Regions from separate parts of the Homo sapiens genome. Here region 1 is linked to region 2. Evidence: promoter capture Hi-C in 16 types of primary human blood cells and fetal thymus (Javierre and others, 2016). All regions are on one chromosome and are shown on one strand. Each heading gives the region's core, a stretch centred on a gene start or on the middle of the fragment in contact. The rest is flanking DNA. Distances are from core to core; before and after follow the strand shown.

Region 1 (6,953 bases), core at 1,550-4,049, 140 kb after region 2:
AGAGGGAGGAAAGCAACAACCTTAAAAGATCATAAACGCGGTTATGCACAAAGGAACGGAGCTATGAAAGCAAACAAGCAGACCAGGGTGGACCCAGCCACGGGGTGGGCAGGGCTGGGAGAGCCCCCAGAGCAAGTGCAGAGCAGGGTGGACCCAGCCACGGGGCGGGCGGGGATGGGAGAGCCCCCCGAGCGAGTGCAAAGGGACAGAGGGGTGGGAACGCAGGAACCCGGGGGCTTCCTCCAGAAAACCAGCGCACAGATGAGAATGGAAGGAGGAAACCACCAAGGATGTAAAGGGGCAGGTCCACCAGGACAGAGCAAACGCCAGCCTTCAGAGAGCTCTAGAGATCCCACACGCACACAGTAAGGGGAAACGTTATAGTATGAAGGACGAAAGAAGAGTCTACAAGGAAAAAAGAACAAGAATTGGACTAGGACTAGGCTTTACACCAGCAACTCTGGGACAGAAGGCCATGGGGCCACACACTGGGGGCAGAATTCCAGGCTGTGGGTGATCCTGTGACGGGGGAGAGGTCCCTCCTGTCCCAGGCAGCGACACAGAGATGGTGGCATGGCTCTGCGTGAGACTGGAGGGAGACTCTCCTGCTGGCCTCATTGCACCGGTAAACTTCAGGGAGTTCGAATGATAGCAATTGAGCCACCGTGTTGTGAGAGGGTCCCTGGAGGGGCTGCGTGGCCAGGACTGAGGACGCCGCTAGGGTGCAGAGTGACCCTGGCTGTCAGACAGTGAGGGAATGGAGGCCTTGGCCCCACAGCTGGAGGGACTGAATTCTGCCAACAGCTGGGTGAGTCTGGAAGGGACCCTGGGCCTCCAAGGAGAGGCAGGCCTGGCCATCATTGATTCCAGCCTGGAGAGACCCTGAGCCGGGAATGGCTGAGCCCTGCCCAGGCCCTGGCCCCAGAACCTGAGATAATAAATGGGTGTTTAAAGCAGCTAAGCTGCTAAGTTTGTGGTAATTTATACACAATGTGTTCTTGTTTTGTTTAATTATTTTTAGGTTTTTTTTGGATACAGAGTCTTGCTCTGTCACCCAGGCTGGAGTGCAGTGGCGTGATGTTGGCTTAGTACAGCCTCCACCTCCTGGGCTCAAGTGGTCCTCCTGCCTCAGCCTCTTGAGTAGCTGGGACTACAGGTGCATACCACCACGCCTAGCTAATTTTTTGTATTTTTAGTAGAGACGGGGTTTCACCGTGTTAGCCAGGATCGTCTCGATCTCCTGACCTCGTGATCCGCCCGCCTCGGCCTCCCAAAGTGCTGGGATTACAGGCGTGAGCCACTGGGCCCAGCCCCACAGATACATTTTTAAATCCCTGTAACTGCAAAAATAAATAAATCTTTAACACAACACAGCAGCTGTCACCATGCCTATCTTCCCACTTTAAACAACTGGGACACTGGGCAGTAAATGGGGCACGGCTTTCACAGAGCGAACGATGAACACACGAGCGGTGCGGGGCTGAGGCCCCTCAGAGAAGGTCCTCGCGAGATGGGCCCACTCGCCGCCCGGCTTCTCTCCACAGGCCATTCCGGATCCCCGCAGGGACGGCAAACCACGCAGAGCACGGTGGTCTTGCTGTGACGAGGAGATGAAGGTTGGAGTTTGGAGAAGCTGAAGTGGCTGAAATGGGCTTTATGAGGCAGAGGGGCAGAGAGGAGGGGAACCTGGGATCTGTGCAGGGATCCCCTAGAAGCTGTGGCTGACAGCCACATGCAAATACACAGGAGAAGCCAACACCGGCTGGGCCAAGAGCAACTCGTGGGAACGAAGCAGCCAGCACGGGGCTCCACGTGCGCTGATTCCCAGAGCTCGTCAGGGCGGCCGGCGGAGCATCCTTGGAGCTCTCGCTCCAGGGCACGCAGTGGGGTCTGGGAGTCATAGTGCTGAGTCAGCCCTGGTGAAAAGGCTTCTCTAGACCTGCCCCACCTGCCCTCGCACTGATTTTAAACAAGTCTCAAATGGGTCAAGCTGCCATGTAAATACTTAACTGCAGCCAAACAAAAAACAGCACAGCCAAAACCAGATGCTCGCCAACATCATATTCACCATGTCTGACATCCAGTGAAAACTTACCAGATGGGCAAGGAAGTAGAAAAAAATGTAGCTCTCTCCAGTAGAAAAATCAGCCCATAGAAACAGACTCAGAAATAAAGATATGATGGAATTAGCAGATAAATACATTTAAGCAGCTATTACAAATAAGTTCAGAGATTTAAAGGCAACCGTGCACATAATGAGGAGAGAAATTAAATGTATAAAAAAGTCTAAATATTGTAATATGTGCTGTTTTCTTTCAGTGAATGGAAGAGTTTAACGAAGAAGGAACATTGGAATCAAGAGTTGAGAACATAAGCCAGGCGGGGTGGCTCACGCCTGTCATCCCAGCACTTTGGGAGGCCAAGGCAGGTGGATCACCTGAAGTCAGGAGTTCAAGACCAGCCTGGCCAACATGGTGAAACCCTGTCTCTACTAAAAATACAAAAATTAGCCAGGCGTGGTGGCGCATGCCTGTAATCCCAGCTACTCTAGAGGCTGACACAGGAGAACTGCTTGTACCCAGGAGGTGGAGGTTGTAGTGAGCTGAGATTGCGCCACTGCACTCCAGCCTGGGTGACAGAGTGAGACTCCATCTCAAAAAAAAAAGAAAAAAAGTTGAGAACATTATCACAGCATGTTTTTTTTCTTCTGCATTAGTTCATATTATGAGGGTTTTCTACATACACAAGTAATAGGTAAATCTAAATGTGCTTTCTTGAAGATACATGATGTTTTATTTCAGTCAATGGAAGTATTTAACAAAAAAAAAAAAGAATGCTGGAAGGAAGAGCTAAGAACGTTATTACAACATGTTTCTTTCAGCATTGGTACTTTTCCTTTTTTTTTTTTTGAGACCCAGTCTCGCTCTGTTGCCCAGGCTGAAGTGCAGTAGCACCATCTCGGCTCACTGCAGCCTCCGCCTCCTGGGTTCAAGTGATTCTCCTGCCTCAGCCCCCCGAGTAGCTGGGATTACAGGCGTGTGACACCACACCGGGATAATTTTTGTATTTTTAGTAGAGATGGGGTTTTACCATGTTGTCCAGGCTGGTCTCAAACTCCTGACCTCAGGTGATCTGCCAGCCTTGGCCTCCCAAAGTGCTGGGATTATAGATGTGAGCCACCGCGCCCGGCCCACCAAACATTTATTTATATTTTATTTTTTATTTGTTTATTCATTTTTTTGAGACAGAATCTCACTCTGCTGCCCAGGCTGGAATGCAGTGGCACGATCTGGGCTCACCAAAACCTCCGCCTCCTGGGTTCAAGTGATTCTCCCACCTCAGCCTCTGGAGTATCTGGGACTACAGGCGTGAGCCACCATGCCTGGCTAATTTTTGTATTTTTAGTAGAGACGGGGTTTTACCATGTTGGCCAGGCTGGTCTCGAACTCCTGACCTCAAGTGATCTGACAGCCTTGGCCTCCCAAAGTGCTGGGATGACAGGCGTGAGCCATCACACCCGGCCCACCAAACACTTTTAAACCATCAGAACTCACTTACTATCATAAGCACAGCATCGGGGAAACCGCCCCCATGAGCCAATCACCTCCCATCAGGGTCCTCCCTTGACACATGGGGATTACAATTTGAGATTAGATTTGGGGGGGGACATAGAGCCAAATGATATCATACAGCATACACATTCATCAAAATTCATCAAGTGTAGAGTTAAAATGGATGAGTTTAGCATATGTATTCTGTAATAAAGTTGACTTGAATGTGTATGGGAAATAGAATGCTATCTTTGTTCAAGGAAGTGTTCGCCCCAACGGATAAGAAACACATGAGGACATGAACAATCAGACAAGACAGACGAGGAGATTCTTTGTTTTTGTTTTCCTTTTTGCAGAGATGGGGTCTCACTATGTTAACCAGGCTGGTCTCCAACTCCTGGGTTCCAGCAATCCTCCTGCTTCTGCCTCCCTAAGTGCTGGGATTATAGGTGTGAGCCACCACGCTTGGCAAGAGGAGATTCTTAGTGCAGAATCAAGCAGGAGCACCTTTATGGCTCTTATTACAGACTGAGAAACACCATCCTCTGGCCATGCTCCCTCCAGCAGGCGGCCCCTTCTGCATGTCTTCCCACACCACCCCTGCGTGACCAGACATTCTATCTGTCTTGTTCACTGTCTTTCTCCCCCAAGAAAATGTGAGGCCAGGGACTCAATCTGTTCAGTTTTGAATCCTTAGTACCTACAACAGCACCTGCCCATAGGAGACCCTCAATGGAAACATCTGCCTGGGGACAGTTACCTTTCAATGTCCTGCTGGGATCGGGCCACCTGTGCCTTGAGCTTCACCTCTTCTTCCTGCAGCGTCTGAATCTGAAGGTCTCTGGAGACCATCTCCTTAGATAGTTGAGCAATTTGAGCATCCCAGGCAGATTTTACAGTTGATGCATCTTCACGAAGTCTAAACATAGAAGGGAAACTATGTAGATGTGGTTCTCACTCACTAAAGTTGTCTCTTACACAGCACCCCCCAGCAAATACACATGCGCGCGCGCGCGCGCACACACACACACACACACACACACACACACACACACACACACACACACACAGCTCTCGAGCTGAAACTTCCTGGCCTAGATGATGAAGATGGTTCCGCACAGGAAGAATTAAGCATCCGTCCACCCAACTACCTCCATGCATGCATGCATCCCACCAACCCAGATTCCAGCTAAGCTCCTGCAGCACACCAGGCCATGTGCCAGGTTCTTGGTGGGCGGAAGGTGAGGCATGACATGCCTCCCATGCCCACAGAGCCCACAGTCATGAGGTAGCAACACCTCTGACCAAGTCACCCTCATGTCCTCGCCATGCCTAGCACAGCACCCCACGTGCAGAGACATTCAGCACATTTTCAAGTTGCATGGTAAAATAAGGTTCTACAGAACCCACTAAATAACCTTAACAGCAGGATGCCTCTGGGAGAATTACCCAAAATGGAATAAATTTCCCAAGAAAATGTTCGGGACAATATCTAGAGCTGTTAACTCAGGTAGCCACAGTACTAACCTAGGCAAGATGATACCTGCCCACTTGCATGGGCGTAGCCCTGTTTCCCTAAGAGATGGGAAGACGGCCCACAAGAGCAACTGTAGCATCACACACGACAGACCTTCAGATGCTCCTGTGCTGATGAACTTCCAACTGACAGTGAGAAGCAGAGGGTGAGCTGGCTGCCCCCACAGAGGCCACCCCTTGTCACGAGGGGTTAAACCTAGCATGAGTGGTGCACTCAAGCCTGGTATTATATAGAATGGAAAAAAAGCCACCCTGCCAACAGTTTTGGACACATATTTTAGGACAGCTGAAAAGAGACACCATCAAAGGCATCAACGTTTCCAGCCATCTCTGGCAATGTGGGCTGACACAGAATGTGTGTTTGGACTCCTTCCACGCTTTGCGTGGGTACTGAAGAAACAGACTCACCAACGGCCTCTGGTGCTCTGGGAAGCAGCTTTATCCCTGGACCATGAGCCACCTAATTATGAGGGCCAGCCCCACTCCCAGCATCAGGATGGTGATGTGACTCTGCCTGGGGCCTCCTGGACAGTCTCCCCTGATGCACAGTCTCAGGTGTAGATCAATGGGCACGGCTGCTGAGCCCTCACTGCAGGGACAGAGGACACCACGGCCACGAGCGGGAGTGCACTGCTCACCACAAGAGCGTAAATGCTTTTTGTGAGAAGCCAAGGTGGAAGGATCACCTGAGCCCAGGAGGTCGAGGCTCCAGTGAGCCATGATCGCACTGCTGCTTTCCAGTCTTCTCTTTCTTCTGCGTAATGGGATGGTTAAAATAAAAAAGAAGGCTGGGCATGGTGGCTCATGCCTGTAATGCCAGCACTTTGGGAGGCCGAGGCAGGCAGACTGCTTGAGGTCCCAGAGCTCGAAACCAGCCTGGGCAACATGACTAAACCCTGTCTCTACTCAAAATACAAAAATTAGCCGGGTGTGGTGGCACGCACCTGTAGTCCCAGCTACCTGGGAGGCTGAGGGGGGTGGATCACCTGAGCCCAGGAGGTGTAGGCTGCAGTGAACCGAGATCACGCCACTGCACTCCAGCCTGGGTGACAGAGTGAGACCTTGTCACAAAAAAAAAAAGGAAGAAAAAAATGCTTTCCTGTTAATCCTACAGGTTTTCTCTGTAGTTCCAAACTCCAAACCAGCACAAAACTGCTGAAAAACCTATTAAGAACTACAAAGCTGGCCAGGCACGGTGGCTCATGCCTATAATCCCAGCACTTTGGGAGGCTGAGATGGGAGGATCACTTAAGTCCAGGAGTTTGAGACCATCCTGGGCAACATGGGGAGACCCCATCTCTACTTCATTTTAAGAAAGAAAAAAAGGAACTGAAATAAATATGGCTGTCACTTATTTCTATTTTTTTAGTTAAAAAATTATTTTTTTAGAGACAGAGTCTTGCTCTGCCTCCTGAGTAGCTAGGACTATAGGTGAGCACCACCGTACCTGTCTAACTTTTCTTTGGGTAGACATAGGGTCTTGTTTCGTTGCCCAGGCTCAAGTGATCCTCCTGCCTCAGCCTCCCAAAGTGCTGGGATTAGAGGTGTGAGCCACTGTGCCTAGCCGAGGTCATCATTTAATGCCAGCTCATACTTGGGATCATGGGATCCGAATGATAGCTGAACTCCCCAGAAGTAAAAGAGGAAAGATACAAGCTTTAGAATGTAGAAGTCTGTTTCTTACTACCAAAATAATACTGCATATGTGTAGTAATAATTCTCAATGAGCAAAGAGTATTTACGGACAGAAAACGAAAAGACATTCAAGAACAACATTTAGCTTAAGACTGCAACGGGGGGCCAAGGTTAGGCGCACAGGAGTGGTGACGCCCAGTCACCTCGGCCGCACTACATGGAAAATGGAAG
Region 2 (2,601 bases), core at 102-2,601:
GTGTCCTAGGTTGGGGGAGGTACCCCAGCCCTGCTCACCTTGTGGGGCCCGAGCTCTAGGGCCATCACCTTGGTCAGCATGTCCAGGGCACCCTTGGTGGAGCCTACGAAGAGGAACCCAAGCTGGCTGGGGCTGGGGTCGGTGATGAGGGCGAGGCTGGGGCTGGGGTGGGGCTGAGGGCACAGCTGGGGCACTCACAGTAGACGCTATGGTTAGTTACTGCCCGCTGGGAGCACTGGCTGGAGACATTCACGATGGCCCCTGGGACTCCCCGGGCTATTAAGCCCCTGGCCACAATCTGGAATCGCAGCGAGACCGTGAGGCAGAGCTGGCATCACTCACGAGAATTCCCGTCCAGCCCACAGGGCAGCTCACCTGCGACACCTGGATGACCGCACGCAGGTTCACCTCAAAGGATCTAGAGGCCGAGGGACAGACCCTGGTCAGAGATTAGGGCTGCTGCGTCCTCCAGGACAGCCCCTCCCTGAGGTTCCTCCGCCCTCACAGGCTCACCTGTCAAAGGCCTCCTTGGTGACCTCCAGGAAGGGCTGCAGCAGGGCGACAGCGGCGTTGTTCACCAGCAGGTCCACGGGGCCCACGCTGCCCAGCGCCCGCTCGGTGGCCTCCCAGTCACCCAGGTCCACGCACACGGGTTCTATCCCCGGGCACTGTGTGTATCAGGGGGCAGTTACCAGAGGCTCTGTGCCCAGCAAGCGGCACAGCTGGGGACTGGGGCTGGTGACCTTTCAGCCGGACAAGTAAAGGAGTTAGGAGTTCCGAAGGTGTCGGGACTGTGGGGCCAGCAGCCGGGCGCTACCTCCGGCCGGTTCACTTCCTCCCTGCGCCCGAGCGACTCCTGCCCGGGGCCTGCTTCGCAGCCATTTCGGCCTCTTTCTGAGCCCGGGGGCCCCGGCGGCTCTGCCGACCACCCGGCCGCCCACGCAGGCCACCAGCCCCGAGAGAGGGTGCGCGGGCGCCCAGGCCGCGGTGAGAAGCGCAGCGCCCGCGAGGGGAGGCGGAGTCGCGCACAGAGGTACCGCCCCCGCTCGCTGCCGCCCCCTCCTGGCTCGCCGCCTCGCAGCGCTGGGACCCGGCGGGACCTACCTCGCGGACAAGGCTGTCAAGATCCGCCTGAGTCCGGCTCACAGCCACCACCCGCGCGCCCGTCGCGTGCAGCGCCTGGACCGTGCCGCGCCCTATACCTGCCGGGAGCGGGCTCAGTGAAGGCGTCCCCTGCCCGCCTCTGCCCGCCGCCGGCCTTTGCCCACCTTTCCCCGCCGCCCACCTTTGCCTGCCCCGGTGACCAGCACCCGGCGGCCCGCGAGGAACAGCTCCATGTCGGCGCAGTCTCCGCCCTCCGCACTGGGGCTGCGGAACTTGAAGCTCTGGCCACGATGGGCGGGGCGCGGCGGGGCCAATGGCAGGGCGGCCTTCAGATAGGCGGTGGGGACATTCAAATAGCTGCTCCCCGCTGCAGTGATTGGCCGAAAGGAGTGGGCGCGCCGGGGCGGGGCGGGGTCTCCGCTGCCTCAGGGACGGGTCTTTTGAAGTGCCTGGTGTGACCCATCTTCCGTGCTTGAAATCGACGTAGTGGACCCTGGCTAGCATATTTTTCCCTGCCAAGATTATTGCAAAAAGACGATGTGGTGGTTAATATCGGAAAGAATGTGTGGTTAATATCAGGAAGAACACGTGAAATGGAGAATTTCAGGGCTAACATTTCTTGTTTTGTTTCTGAAAACATCGGCATGTCCTAAAAAGTGTCGCCTGTGCCCATCATCTCTCAGGCTTGGGAGCAGGACACCGCCGGCTCACTTTAAAGCCAAGGGAAAGAATTTGGACAACCAACTACGTCTGGAGAAGACACCAATGTCAGCAGAGCTCCGCTTTCATCTGTGGGCGAAGGATTACCTAGATGCCAAGGCAAGAGACTGAAGACACAAACTGTTTCAGTATAACAAAGAAAATAGGCCGGGAGCGGTGGCTCACGCCTGTAATCCCAGCACTTTGGGAGGCCGAGGCGGGTGGATCACGAGGTCAGGAGATCGAGACCATCCTGGCTAACACGGTGAAACCCCATCTCTACTAAAAATACAAAAAATTAGCCGGGCGCGGTGGCGGGCACCTGTAGTCCCAGCTACTCAGGAGGCTGAGGCAGGAGAATGGCGCGAACCCAGGAGGCGGAGCTTGCAGTGAGCCGAGATTGCGCCACTGCACTCCAGCCTGGGCGACAGAGCAAGACTCCATCTTTAAAAAAAAAACAGTTAAAATAAAAATAGTCATAATACAAATTAGATATAAAAATGATCATGATCATGGATAATTATCAATCATTAGTATAAACATTATTAATCATTAGCTTTTAATATTACTCTTTGTTGCATTACTAATATAACCTAGGGACATTGTGAGAAGTGACCTAGAAGGCAAGAGGTGAGCCCTCTGTCACTCCCGCATAAGGGCTGCTTGAGGGCTCCTTGGTCAAGCAGTAATGCCGTTGTCTGGGAAGCCACCCGTTACTTAGAAGACTGCGAAGGGGAGTCTCCTTTCCTTGGAGGCGTCAGGGAACACTCTGCTCCACCAGCTTCTTGTGGGAGGCTG

Evidence for each region. The method cuts DNA at HindIII sites, captures the fragments that hold promoters and counts their contacts. A CHiCAGO score of 5 or more calls a contact.
Region 1: a fragment that was not itself captured here is called in contact with the fragment with the promoter of DCXR in region 2 in 7 of 17 cell types (total CD8 T cells, total CD4 T cells, naive CD4 T cells and 4 more); the score reaches 7.3 in total CD8 T cells.

What each region holds. Positions count from the first base shown.
Region 1 is chr17:82,179,463-82,186,415 of GRCh38, forward strand. It overlaps CCDC57 (coiled-coil domain containing 57), which reads right to left. Exons shown (of 19, transcript NM_001394669.1): 8 at 4,312-4,470. Among named protein-coding and RNA genes, the nearest start is that of CCDC57, 30 kb to the right of the region's middle. RefSeq lists enhancers at 219-1,186, 1,187-2,153. The HindIII fragment of the contact is 7,884 bases long and covers 1-6,741 here.
Region 2 is chr17:82,036,346-82,038,946 of GRCh38, forward strand. DCXR (dicarbonyl and L-xylulose reductase) reads right to left here and starts at 1,352. Exons shown (of 8, transcript NM_016286.4): 1 at 1,286-1,352; 2 at 1,105-1,202; 3 at 514-668; 4 at 376-418; 5 at 199-298; 6 at 39-103. The coding sequence starts at 1,337. DCXR-DT (DCXR divergent transcript) reads left to right here and starts at 1,573. Exons shown (of 2, transcript NR_159948.1): 1 at 1,573-1,923. RefSeq lists a silencer at 743-1,572. The HindIII fragment of the contact is 4,930 bases long and covers 1-2,601 here.